Regions from separate parts of the Homo sapiens genome. Here all the other regions are linked to region 3. The links are contacts of gene promoters, found by promoter capture Hi-C in blood cells and fetal thymus (Javierre and others, 2016). All regions are on one chromosome and are shown on one strand. The core of a region is centred on a gene start or on the middle of the fragment in contact, and the rest is flanking DNA. Distances in the headings are between cores, read along the strand shown. Region 1 holds the start of ADARB1 (adenosine deaminase RNA specific B1). Region 2 holds the start of LINC00334 (long intergenic non-protein coding RNA 334). Region 3 holds the start of SLC19A1 (solute carrier family 19 member 1).

What was found. The method cuts DNA at HindIII sites, captures the fragments that hold promoters and counts their contacts. A CHiCAGO score of 5 or more calls a contact.
Region 1: a contact is called between the fragment with the promoter of ADARB1 here and the fragment with the promoter of SLC19A1 in region 3, in 14 of 17 cell types (M0 macrophages, fetal thymus, total CD4 T cells and 11 more). The highest score is 20.7, in M0 macrophages.
Region 2: the fragment with the promoter of LINC00334 here is called in contact with the fragment with the promoter of SLC19A1 in region 3 in 2 of 17 cell types (M0 macrophages and endothelial precursors); the score reaches 7.6 in M0 macrophages.

The regions. Positions count from the first base shown.
Region 1 is chr21:45,072,550-45,077,254 of GRCh38, forward strand. It overlaps ADARB1 (adenosine deaminase RNA specific B1), which reads left to right and starts at 2,031. Exons shown (of 11, transcript NM_001112.4): 1 at 2,031-2,244. It overlaps LOC105372836 (a long non-coding RNA gene), which reads right to left and starts at 1,192. Exons shown (of 5, transcript XR_937796.3): 1 at 924-1,192. It also overlaps the pseudogene SSR4P1. RefSeq lists silencers at 1,675-1,764, 1,785-1,984. The HindIII fragment of the contact is 4,896 bases long and covers 1-3,660 here.
Region 2 is chr21:45,232,803-45,237,254 of GRCh38, forward strand. LINC00334 (long intergenic non-protein coding RNA 334) reads left to right here and starts at 1,538. Exons shown (of 3, transcript NR_135279.1): 1 at 1,538-1,704. The HindIII fragment of the contact is 2,370 bases long and covers 1,280-3,649 here.
Region 3 is chr21:45,540,052-45,544,409 of GRCh38, forward strand. It overlaps SLC19A1 (solute carrier family 19 member 1), which reads right to left and starts at 2,389. Exons shown (of 6, transcript NM_194255.4): 1 at 2,317-2,389. RefSeq lists silencers at 1,823-1,882, 2,233-2,542, 2,583-2,662 and an enhancer at 2,517-3,029. The HindIII fragment of the contact is 3,738 bases long and covers 1,659-4,358 here.

The DNA of each region.
Region 1 (4,705 bases), core at 781-3,280, 470 kb before region 3:
TGGGGATTTGCTTTTTCTTGCTGCCGACGGAGCCCAGCCACCACGGGAGGGAGGCCCGGCCAGCCTGCGGTGGGTGGGTGACATGTGGCCCGGATCTGCCCGGGGCGCCTGCCTGTAAGTGGGCCCAGCAGACACCCCATGGAGCCGAGGCAAGCCGTCCCAGCTGAACCGGCTTAAGCTGCAGGCCCACAGAGTCATGAGCAGTGAAGAGAGGTTTTCGCCCTCTGAGGTTTGGGGTGGCCTGTTACACAGAAATACACACAACGTCCTCAGGCACGTATCTCTTTAAGAATGTGTCCCGAGAAGGCGTCCCAGGAGTCTTGATTTTTATTTAGCCGTCCACGGTTGCCCCTTTGGGTGCTTCGCCTTCAGATGGGGTGAAGGGCTCACTTGTTAGCTGGCTGGCCCCAAAGACAGGCTTGTTTTCCACCAGGCAGTGACTGAAGCCGGCAGCCTGCTGCATACCGCGGGCCTTCCCCTGACCTGTCCGGGACTGCGGGCTGGCGGCTGACACCTGCGGAGTGCTTACCGCATACCAGGCTCCCAAACTTCCATCTGTGTTCGTCTTTTAAGTTTTGTTGTTTTCCAGAGTCGGAGTCTCAGTGTTGCCCGGGCCAGAGCGCAGCGGCCATTTATAGGCGCGGACCTCGGCCTCGCACACCACAGCTCCAGCTCTGAGACACAAGCGACCCGCACCCCCCCACCGCCCAGCCCCAGCCTCCAGACTGGCTGAGATCACAGTGTGCGCCACCCCATCCCTGGCTTGCGATGGTCTCTTACTCCCCACTTTACAAGGGAGGAAAGAGGCCGAGGGCAGAGTGGGCCGCCTGAGGTTTGGAGGCCAGGGCTAGTACAACCTCAATTTGACCCTGGAACCTGCCGCTTCCCCCACCCAGGTGCGGGACCCACCCGCTTGTCCACACCTGGCTCTGCCCACCGCCCCCGGCTGCTCCTCTGGGCTCAGGTCGCCGCGGTCAGGAGCTGCCAAGTTTGCCTATCAAACTTTATCTTCGTGCAGAGAACTGCAGCCTGGAGCTGGTTATTCCGGTCAGTGAAAACGTTGCATTTCTACATATGCTTATCATCATCTGTGTAAACATTTCTTGGTATAACTGTGGAACAGTCAGTAAATATAGATAAATCGAAGAGTAGGTCTATTGCATATGCTATAAAAAAATGCTTTTACTATCAACCTAAAACAAACAAACAAACAAAAAAAATCAAACAAAACCACCATCACCTAAACGTTGGTAACTGGAGCAGCTGCTAGTGTCAGTGCGGACTAAACAGGAGACGGCGGGAACCGTGTCCAGCCAGGGTCCTGGGCCGCGACCTGGTTCTCCCGGAGTCTACAGTGAGGATGACGGGCGGGGAGAGGGGGCCGGCGGGACCCGCGTGTCCCAGGCAACTCCGGGAGAGGGAGAAGCAGGGGTGGCTCGGCGGGGGCTCGGCGGGGGCTCGGCGGGGGCTCGGCGGGGGCTCGGCGGGGGCTCGGCGGGGGCTCGGCGGGGGCAGCGCCCGCTGCAGGGAGGAGCGCGGGGGCCCGGGAGCCTGGGCAGCACCGCGAGACGCCACCTCCGCAAAACGCAAACGCCAATCGCCGGGCGCCTGCGGTCCCAGCTACCAGGGAGGCTGAGGCGGCAGGATCGCGTGAGCTCGGAGGTCCACCGCGCTCCAGTCTGGGCGACAGTGAGACCCCGTCCCCAAAACGAAGGCGGGCAGAGTCTCCTCAGCCGCGCTCGGGCGGGCGGCGCCGCGACGCCAGGCCGGTCCCGCGCTCTCGCCCCACGCTCCGGAGCCGCCCAGCCGCGGTCTCTCAGCTCCGGCCGCGCTCCAGCCCCAACGGCCCCGCGCCCGTCCGCCGCAGGTGGTCGTGAGGGAGGTGCCACAGCTCCGGCTGCCCACGACAGACACGGGCGCCCCAGCGCGCGCACGTCCGGCGTCGCTGCGCCGCCCCCGCCCCCTCGGCGTGCGCGCGCCCGGCGGGCCGGCGGGGGCGGGGAGGGGGCGGAGCCGCCGGCGGCGGGGCTGAGGCGCTGAGGCGGCCGTGGCGGCGGCGGCGGCGGCGGCGGCAGCGGCGGCCAAGCGGCCAGGTTGGCGGCCGGGGCTCCGGGCCGCGCGAGGCCACGGCCACGCCGCGCCGCTGCGCACAACCAACGAGGCAGAGCGCCGCCCGGCGCGAGACTGCGGCCGAAGCGTGGGGCGCGCGTGCGGAGGACCAGGCGCGGCGCGGCTGCGGCTGAGGTGAGGGCGGCGCGGGGCCGCGGCGGCTCGGGCGGGCGCGGGCTCCGGACCCCGCGGTGGCGGCGTTTATGTAAGCGCCGGGCAGGGACTGGTGGTGGGGCCGGAGCTGCGGGCCGTCCCGGGAGCGGAGGGCGCCCGCGGAGAAGCGAGGGTGCCGCGGCACCGCCTCGCACCCACCCTCCTGGGTCGCCCGTCTGCTCCGGCGCTCGGCTCCCGGAGGAAGCTGCGCCCGGGCGGCCCCGCGTCCCCTCCCGAGGGCGCCGAGTCCGCGTGGGATGCGCCGCGCTGCGCCGCGGGGAGGGCAGGTGCGCCGGGACGAGGCTGCGCCCTGGGGACCGAGACTGCGTTTTGGGGAGGGGACGGTGTGCCCTGGAGATCGGAGGCTGCGCTGGGGACGAGGCTGCGCCCGGGGACCAGAGGCTGCCCCGGGTACAAGGTTGCGCCGGGGAACGGGAGGCTGCGTTGGCAACAAGGCTGCGCCTGGGGACGGTAGGCTATGTCCCTGGGGAGACGCTCCGCCCGGCATGGGACGCTGCGCCGGGGGACGGCAGGCTGCGCCCGGGATGAGGCTGGGCCCGGGCAGGGGAGGCTGCCTTGGGAGGGGACGCTGTGCCACGGGAGTGGAGACTGCGTTGGGGACGAGTCTGCGCCCTGGACGGTCCTGCGTGTCCTTCCGAGGGCGCAGTGTCCGCGCGGGATGCTCTGCGCCGCGGGCGGCCCGGGCCAGGGAAGTTCCTGCGGGTGCCGGGCGTCTGCAGCGATCGGGAGCAATCTGGGGCAGTTGGGGGCCCGAGGTGACTTTTGACGTGTTCACATCAGAAGGAAAATTATTGCGTGGTGGATGGGTGCGAGGGAAGGTGTCAGATTGGGCTGTGGACGCTGAAACGTGTTGGAGTCCCGATTTACACGCTGGAAAACCTAACCTAAAACGTGTTCCTGTCCAGGTTTCTATGTCGGAGATCTGCACCGTGGTGTTTAGTTCCCAGTTAATATTTTTGGTCAGCAGGTTTGGGCTGTTACTTCTGATACAGGCATTTTACTTCCTTCTTACTAACCATTATTGCATTCCGTTCTCGAAGTATAACGAAAAGTGGCATGATATCAAACTTGTTTCTTTAACGTTTAACTCCATAATTAAGATGATAGAACCGTAGTTTTTTTAATTGAGAATACAAATATGTATTTAATCCTCTTTGTTTCCTCTTAAATTTTGCCGTATGTTTTATTGCTTCGAAAGGTGCCACCCAGAGCTGCATTTTCCAAAACGCTAGGTTGTCTTAAGAGCAGTTGTTTCTAGGAGATAGAAAAGCTAATTGTCTTTTGATGACCATCTTTTCCTTGGGGTTGAGACTGCTGTATCCTTTTTGCCTGCTGAGGGTTTCCCAGAGGGGAAAGGGAGAAGGAAGAAAGGATAAAAGCTTGGCTGATACAGTTCCTTCTTGGATAAGAGAATTAACTGTCTCTCATTGCGCGGTTCCTCCGGAGGACAGGGTCCAGTATGCATGGACAGCCACAACGGGGGCTCGGTAAGTATTTGATGAGACAGGCTGAGCTGGGTGCCTATATCTTGCCTGTGGTGGAGAGGATGAACTCACACAGACTCTGAAAGGAATGCATTGTCTGTGAGTGATGCCCTGTTAGATGTCTGAGGGTTCCTAAGACTGGGTATATCCCACTACATCTACATCACATTTGAAGCTGTAGTTGGAAAGGAAAAAAGGAGGCCCTCCTGCAGGGACAGGGGCTTAAAAATAATCGATCCAGCTCTGAGAAATTGATGACACATGTGTCTCTGGTGTGACGTGCTCATGCAGTTGTTACTGGGAGGCCAAGGGGGAAGGATTAGCTATGAAGTGATAACATCATCCACAAAAAACATCTTGGCTCAGAGGCTAATTTCACTTCCTCGTGAATTTATGTATTGTAAAACATTTGAATTCTTTTAGATTTTTGGAATAAGAATTTTTTTAACTTCTATTTGTCCAGTGAATGCATAAAACAAACTTAATCCATTTGACAAATACTTGTCTGTGGCCTGTTATGTGCTAGGCCTTCCCTGTTTTAGGCCCTAGGAGATACAGTACTTAACAAGATAGGTAGAGATCAAAAATGCTTCTGGCATAAAGCAGTACATTTGTATTGATAGATTTAAAAAGATAAGCAAGCACACAGTACCTACAGAAAGGTAAAGCCTCATTCCACTCCATCCCTGGGCACTTGGTTCAAAGGCTGCACCCAATTGTGTATTGTCCTAGCAGGAGTCAAAGTGTGTATTGTATATGTTTTAATATATGACAAACCTTGCTATAGTGCATATTCTTACACGTGGGTACAAGCAAAGCCTACTAATTAGTTATTATCAAAATTTCTTAGCTGTAAGTTTTACTTAAGAACTGGGTTTTATTCCCTTGAATGCTGTGATTAGCTCTGTGATCAAACAATATAATTCAAATAGGAGGTA
Region 2 (4,452 bases), core at 288-2,787, 310 kb before region 3:
AACTCCTGGGCTCAAGTGATCCTCCTACCTTGGCCTTCCAAACAGCTAGGATTACAGGTGTGAGCCACTGCACCTGGCCTATAGTTGATTCTTATTTAGTGTTTTGCTCCTAAAAGTAATGTTCAATAAACATATACACACAAGTCCTCACTTAGTACATGACCTGAACATTTACCCACATGCTTCATTAAAGTGTTACAAATTAAGTAAGAAGAGTGGTATATAGATGTATTTTCTTGTAATGGCATATCATAAAGTGGGTCAATTAATTATATTAGCTCTACACGTCTTAAATCATAACTTTATTGCTTTTGGTAATTTAATAAGATGTCCTCTATAATTTATTTCTCAGTGGTTTTCTTTTTTTAATATCCTTGAAAAAGCATGCTAACACTTTTATTTCAATTGAAAAAGTAGGTCAGACTTTTCCTGACGAAAAATGTCTAATTTGGTTCACTGGTTTGACAAGGAGGATTAGGGTATATGGAGGACATCTGCCATAAATAGAATGAACTACATCTTCAAGGATTCAATGAAAACACATTTAAAATAATAGTATAATAAAAGCATTTTATCAAAAATATTAAATTGGCCCCAAAAAGCAATGAAATTAACAACATTTTAATGTTCTCAACCCCCTCAAACTATATTAGATTAAATAAGGTGACAGAGAATCAGGGATAAACGACAGTCCCTTGATAAACTGAGACAAGGACAGCCTCTTAGTAAATGTTCCAGAAATTGAGACTGACTGGATAACACATCCTTTGGCAAGTCAAGTAGTTTCTAATCCTTTGCTTTCAAAACACTTGAATGAAAAACCGAGTTGATAGCTGATAAAGCATTAAACTAATTTTTACAGTTTTAAAATTTCAGATCATCATCGGATTTAGGAACTATTACTCAGAAGAGTTCAGAACACAATTGAGGGCCATTGCTATACTATACCTCCTTATCTACATATTCATGCAAACAAAGTTTCCTAACATGGTCTATAAAAATGAAGAGAAAAATATACTTGAGACTGAAGCCTGCCTCACTGGAGCTGAGTCCTCCTGTTCCTTGAGTGTGGGAACCAATCGGCTGGAAAAACAGCCCCACTCTTCTCATTAACGAGGCAGTTTCAATCAAATGTGTTTATGTGTTAATAGTTATCTATCAGTTTGTAACATACATATGTTTTCTGAAAAACTGAAGTGATACTACTTGTGAAAATAACTCAGGAGATATTAAAAGCTTTTGATCACAAAATAAATTTTAAATTTTTGACCCCATTTAAAGCTTTTTGTTGTAGAGAAGTAGGGCGAGGTAAGCACAAAAGACTTCCAGGAGGCAAAGTAGATGGCACTGGGGTCAAATTTTGTGACAGAAGCCGAATCACGTCCAGGAACGACCAAAACTTCCAAAGGAGCAAAAGCTAGTCCTTTTGCGGGGGCGCAGGCAGAAGCGGCGGCAGAAGCGGCGGCAGAAGCGGCAGGCGGAAGCGGCAGGCGGAAGCGGCAGGCGGAAGCGGAAGGCGTCCATCTTTACCGTGTTCAGACCCGGATGAGTCCTAGTCCCCGCCACACACAGGTCGTGGGTTCTCCTTTGAGAGTGACCACTGGTTCCTAGAGCTTTTCCTAAACTGGAGACGGATCCTGCCCTGGGGGTCTCAGTCACCGCGAGGACTCGAGGGTAACTGCCAGAGGTCCCAGGTGGCCCGAGGTGATGCCGGGCGCAGGGAGGGGCTGGGGCGGAGAGAGGGCTGGGGTTTGGGGCCGTGTCGGGGATGAGTGGTGAGGGGTGCCCAGAAGGGGGAGGCAGAGGTTGGTGTGGCCACGGTGGAAGGAGCCACAAACGTGGACATGTAAAGGAGGACCAAAAGGTTTTTTTTTGTAAAGATCAATATTTAGGACAGAAATCACAACCTTTCTATAAAACAAAACAACTGTATAATTTAAAAATTGAATTGTGAGCTAAACGCATATGAGGGGTTACGGGTTTTCAAAATTCAGAGATTAGGAGCAAAACCAAAAACTTGTAGCCCGCTTCCCTGTGAGCCTCTTCTCCAGCCCAGCCCGGCTGCAGGACTCTGGGGCTGCCTTGAGGACGGGGTGCTATTTCTCAGGTTTCGTCTGCAAAGGGGTAAGTCACCCCAAACCAGAGCACTCAGTGGTGGACTTACAGCCAATCCTGAGCTTCTCAAGACACTAGAGTGCACCCCAGCCTGCCTGCCCCCGAGGCCTGGCACCAGCCAGTGCGGCAAACCAGCAGGCAGGGCACTGAATGTCGTCTGAGCTGCAGGGCCCTTCCTGGGGCTGGGGGTCCAGGCCAGAGCCTCTGTGCTGTGTGTGTGTCCTTACTGTCCACGCCCGAGCCTCATTTATATGGAGAACACATTTCTTCTCAGAAAAGCAAACCTCAAGCAGTTGAACTGGAGAATGAGGACAGAAGGGCTTATGCAGAGCCGGGATATTTTTTACACAAAATCAGAGGAGGGCGACCTTCAAACTATTATTTGTTTTTCTCCTTTGGCCTGGAACTAATCAGCTTAGCATGGATGCCTGGGTGTCCCGGTGAGATAGCGAACCCATCTCATTTGGGTGTTTACCTTTTATAAAAGAAAAAAAAATCCATTTCTTATGAGTACATTGTTATTTATTCTAGAACTTCCCTCATAAACCGTCAGTTCATGCTATGTAATCCTATAAAGTAGTTTATTTTTAAAAATCGTTGAAAGGATAAGCAGAAGATCGCCTCTTCCTGGCATGTGTCAAATTGCTTTATATGTAGCTATTCTAGAGCAAAAATGCTGACTGTCCGTTGAATATTGTCACTTGCCAAGCAGAGAGCTGCGCACCCCTTTCACCCATCTGTGGGTCAGTATGCAGTGTATTTGGGGATATGACACAGTTTCTTATCGCTTCCCATCACCTGTCCTGTGTGAATTGAGGCGGAAGTAATCTCTTGAGGATGACCTGTCTGTGTTTAAATTGAAGATGAATATTGCCATGGACAAATCTGATTTGATCATTGAAGGGACAAGCCTCTGTTTTAGAATTCATTGTGTTGTCACTCAGTTTTGCTGTGATTGCCTCCTTGGTGCCTCCTCTTTCTGCGACAAAACCGAGGGAAAAAATAGGTGGGGGGAACTGTGCTGCAGGTACTTTTAAGTGGATTCAATTTACCTCTGTTTAAGTAGTAGAGAAATATGTTTGGGCCCTGGAGAGAAAAATGCCCTGGATAATTTGCTTATAAACCAGGCGCATGCCTGGAGTGACCAGTGAGTGTGGCAGCAGCCAGGAGGGGCCACCCTGTTGTCCCTGCCTCAGGGCAGGCTCTCCCACCCCAGCTCCTTGGTGGTTCAGGTGACCTTGTGCATCCCTCATGTCAAGCCCTTGCCCAGGCAAGCAGGGGTGGGGCTGGAGCCCTGGGATTCACACAGGGCACGCCGTGCACCATGAGGTCAGTGACATCATAACAGAAGCCTGGCTTCTCAGACCCATCCAGCCCCAGGAATCCTGAAAGTGGGCAGACCTTCAGGGCACTGGGACAATTTGGAGGGAAGGGAGGGGCTATCTCAAGGAACCCTGCAGTGCATGTACCTCTCAGGGAGAAACGGGTGACAGTGGAAGCGCCCTGGTCTGGGGATCAAGGTACCTGGGCTTAAAGCTTTGCTCCCATATACCTCAGTCAGCCTCCTCCTCTGCAAAACAAAGACAGTAAAGCCTGGCCACCCACCCCTTGCTTGGTCTTCAGGGTGTCAAGATGGAACTCACACTTTGAGTCTTGGCTGGGATGGCGTTTGGGCTGGATAAAGGAAGTACAGTGAAAGTAGAAGTGGTAGTCAGACCGATGTGCAGCTGGGTTTGCTCTGCTGGGCAGTGAGAAGCAAGTGCTGAGTGACTGCCACCCAGAGGAACATGGCTGTCAGGCCCTGTGACCCAGCACCTCTCCACCCTGGATGTAAACTGCTGAGAATCAAGGGGTGGGGCTCCCAGGAATGAGGCCATGGCAGATGAGGAGGTCTGGAGTGTCTAGCCTAGTGCAAGCTATTTGTTTCCCAGACAAATAGCTCAGTGGAGCAGAATAGAGAGCCCAGAAGTAGACCCATATAAATATAGTCAACTGATGTTTGCCAAAAGTACAAAGGCAATAAAATGGACAAAAGATAGTGTTTTCAACAAATGGCGCTCGATGTTCACATGAAAAAATAAAAGCATGTAAACACAAATCATAAACCCTTCACAACAGCTAACTCTAAATAGATCACAGAAACTACAAACGACAAAATTTCTAGAAAGTGACATTAGAGAAAACCTAGATGGCTTGGGTTTGGTGATGACTTTTTAGGTACAACACCAAAGGCAACATCTATGAAGGAAACAATAGGCTGGACTTCATTAAAATTAAAAACTGCTCTGCAAAAGATAAAGCCAAGAGGCTGAAAAGACAGGTCATAGACTGGGAGAA
Region 3 (4,358 bases), core at 1,139-3,638:
GCCTCACCTTCCATGCCTCCTCAGGGCCTGTCAACAGCTGGGAAGATCAGTGCACAAAGGTTGGGCTCCATCACCAGGGACCCTGATGCCCAGAGAGGCCACGGGTAGAGCTGGACATACCTCAGACCGCACCCACTCCTCCCCACTGGGAGACCCATTTGGCCCTGGGACTCCCTGTCAAGTTCACTTTCCCACCTGTCAGCAGGTTTAGACAGGCGCACCGATCCCCAGACAACCAGAGCAACCAGATCGCCGCAGACAACGGGGAGCCATCAGGAGCTGAACTAAGCCCAGGGTCTGCGCCCACAGTCCATGGCCGCAGGAGTCAGATCCCCACCCACAGGACCCCCAGGGGCCCGGGAGCCCTGGGTACTTGGGCCCCCTGTTCTGAAAGGTGCCACCTCCAGAAGCGACCAGAACATTCCTTCCTTGGAGAGACAGCCAGAGTCTCCGCCAGCAAGGGGCTGCTGCTGGTCTTAACAGTCAGCCTCTGCTGCCAGCATACTCAACTTATGTGCCGTGAACGTAGCCCACTGACAGAGGCTTGGCCATCACGGCCCAGACCACCTCCAAGAGGAAAGATAGGGAACTTGGTCACCATCATAGAAACGCAGCCCCAAGCCAGGGGACGCCTAGACTCCAAGTGTCCAGACCCCAGCCCAGTCCCATACAGCTTGAGGCCTCTTCCCGGCATCTGAAGGAAGTCCCCGACCAGACAGGAGGGCCACGGGGAAGCAGAGAGAATCCCTGCCTTCAGGAGAAGGTTGTAACAGCCCCTGCAAATCCCCGGCCCCACTGTCCACAGTGACCAGCCCCACCCAGGCCCTGTCCTTCCAAGCACCAGAGAAGGCCAGAGACCCGCAATCAAAACACAAGCAAACGCCACCTATCATTCCGTGTTTAAACCAGCTCCTACTCTGGAAGGCTAACCAAGAATGTTCGTTATGTTTTTTAGAACGCCTGCTAGTTTAAAAAGAAGAAGAAGAAAGCATTGCACACCCTCCCACCCCTGTTCAGATGACCAAGTTCAGGGTTCCTAACAGCATAATTAGACCCTCCGGCTATCACTGCTGCAGGCCCAAACACCCGAGAAGCACTCTTTCTCATCTGTGTCCAGCAGAGATAACTGTACTATCTGGAATTATAAAAATCCACCAAAGCCCCTTCGGAAAGAAAGCAATTAGCAATTGCAACAAGCAGTGCACAGGTGGCACCCAGGCAAAGGCGGCCAGTGAGATGCAGCCTGGCTCCCAGGCCTGGACAGGGCAGGCAGGTGCACTGGGCCAGAGGCACCTCGGCTCTGCTGATTGAATCTGGGCTGTGCGGGGATCCTCGGGTCTCCGTAGGGGGAGGCCACCTCTTTACAGGGCGGCCAACAGGCGCCTCCAAGGACTTTATCCCACCTTCCCTCTGGATGCATTCTGGATTTCGGGGCCAGCTTAGTTGGCCTGTGTCCTGAGGCCAGGCAGGCCAGACTCCCCAGGACAGGAGTTTCCGATGGACAGGACCCTAGGGGGATGGCTTTCCTGCTGTAGCGGTGTTGGAAGGACCCACTCGGGAAAGGCTCCAGCGGCTGTCCAGGCTCTCTCTGAGACGCCTCGGGATTGCTCCGCTGGATCCGCACCCACAGCTGCTCCAAGGGGAAGTTGCACCTACAAAGCTTCTGGCACAGGAGACAATGGTCTGGAGATGTGCCAGGGGCCCGCCCCACGCGTGGCTGGCAGGGTTCACCCACCGGCTGGCCCGTCCCGAAGCAACACGTGCCTGGGCGCGAACGCCGGATCCACGCTTTCCTCCAGACCCGGGGGTGGGACTTGGCGCCCCAGGATGACGCGGAGGGCAGGCTGGGGGCCGGGACTCCCCACCCCATTCGCAGGCTGCGGCGGAAAGCGAGCGGCGGGAAACCCGCTGCACAGCAACGGTTCTGCCAGGCGCCCGGGCCACCGCGACCCCCGCGGAGACCCCGGCCCACGCCCCGCACCCTCCCCAGGGCCCCCCAGACCCCAGGCTGCAGACCGCAGACCCCGGCCACGCCCCGCACCCTCCCCAGGGCCCCCCAGACCCCAGGCTGCAGACCGCAGACCCCGGCCCACGCCCCGCACCCTCCCCAGGGCCCCGCGGACCCCAGGCTGCAGACCGCAGACCCCGGCCCACGCCCCGCACCCTCCCCAGGGCCCCGCGGACCCCAGCGCCAGCCCCCACACTCACCTCACAGGGCCCTGCAAACCTCGGCCCGCGCCCCGCACTCACCCCAGGGCCCCGAGACACCCCGCAGCCCCCGACACGCGGCCCCGTGGCCCCGTTCCCCACCGGTACCTGCGACTCGGCGGGGCGGCTGCCCTGGGGCTCCCGGACCCGGCCCCGCGCACGCGGACTCCGGGACTACAGCGCCCACAAGGCGGCGCGGCGGGCGCGCGGCTGCGGGGTGGGCGGGTCCGTCCCGCCGAACGCGTCCTGAGGGCGGGGCCTCGCGCGTGGCCGGGCGCTGCGGCAGGAGCGTCCCCACGGGGCACCCTCCCACCCACGGCCGTCTCCCAGCCCCGGCGCCGGCCTCTCCCCACCCGGTCACCGCCGGGGTCACGCGGCCCCTCGTGCTGCGGCCCTACCCCTGGGGCCGCCCCCTGACCCCGACCGCCCCTCGGGCCCCCACCCCCGCCGGCGTCAGCATCCTGGGGTGCCACTCGCGGAGGTGTCGGTCCCTCGGGCGGGCACCCTGCCATCCCTCTCCCCCGCGTTCTTCCCACCCCCGGTCCCCTCCTGACCCCCCCTCCTCGACGAGGCCTTGTGCGTTTTCCTTTTGGCACCCTGGAACACCTGCATTCCTGGCCGCAAGCTGGATCCGGGACGCGGGTCGGGCCCACGCGCCCTCAGGGGTGGCCCTGGGCCGCCTTCGTGGGGCTCCAACAGGGACACGCACAGCCTGCTCTTGGGGACCGCACGGCCCCGAACTCGGCGCCCCCGGGACCCCGCCGCCCGCCCTCCTGCCTGACCGTGACCCGTACGGGCTTGTACCAAGGAGCAAGCCGGATCCAGGACGTGGCCCGGGGCCACCAGTCCCCATCCCAGCAGGGACAGCCCGGGGGAGACCCGCGCAGGCCTCGCAGACGGCAGCGCAGTCACACTCAGGAAGGGGGGCCTGGGCCACTCTCCCAGGAAGGCGTGGGGCTGCGGCAGACAGCACCGCCGAAAGCCCAAGGCCTGTGCAGGACACGGGGAGAAGTGGGGGGCCTCAGGGTCACTTTCCCCTGGAGTTACCCAGGGCCTGGCTATGGGGAGGGAAGCCAAGCCGAGGGCTGTGGGGGCCCCAAGGCTAAGGAGGAGCCAGGAAGTCCACTGCACAGAACAGAAGGGGACGGCCACCGTGGTACCCACAGCTCAAGAGTGCGGGTCCCAGGCGAGGGGTGAGTCTGGGGCAGCAGCCCCTGGAATGTACCCCTTCCGGAGTGTAGACAGCACAATCCGCGACCTGCCTCCTGGTGTTGCGGGGGTGCTCTTGGTCTCCCGCCCACCAGCAGGGCAACCCCACCAGGAAGCCAACACAGGGCCCTTGCCCTAAATGGCCGCCTGCCCAAAGCTCTGGCCTGGGCCTTCTTTCCAGAGTCCTGAGTGTAGCAAGCCACACGAACAAATCTCAAAGGAACTTAAAAAGGATTTGTTGGCTGGAAATGGGGGATCTGGGGTAGCTTGCAGAATTTAAGGGAACACTACAGGATGGAGCGCCTCACCTGGAGGGACCCCCTGCTTTGTGGGAGCCCTGGCTCTCTCCCCTGTACTGGCCTTCTCCACGGGTGGGCAGAACCTGGCCCTGCTGGAAGACAGGAGGGGCAACGCGGAGGAGGAGGGGCCCTTCCTTCCCTCCAGGCAGAGAGGAGCCAGCCATGGGGCCAGCTCGCCAGGGCAGCCTGCTCCCTTTACACGCAGGACAGGCCAGGAAGCCGAGGGGAAGTGGGGATGAACAGCAGCGGGGCTCCTAGACCCCTTCCCACAGAAGGATGGCTCCCACCCCCTTCCCGCCTGGAGACAGCAAGGCAGGGAGCCACAGCCCCAAGGGGACCCCGCAGGACCCACAAAGACCAGTCCCTCACCTGTCTCTCCGGTCAGGTGTAGCCGAGCGAATCCGCCCCCGGCCGCGAGGGGCCTGCCCAAGCTGCCCTCGGGTCCCCCTGCGTGGCAGGAGTCCTGGGAGTTCCCCAGCCACACAAGGCCCAGGTTTCCTGCAGGAGCTGCTTCGGAGTGGGGAGGTAGGGCTTCTGCCACCAACAGCACTTGGCAGTTGTAATCTAGAGGCAGCTGCTCTGAGGGAAGAGCCAGGAGACTCGTGAAGAACTTACAGAAACCTCCATTGAGGACTGCGAGGA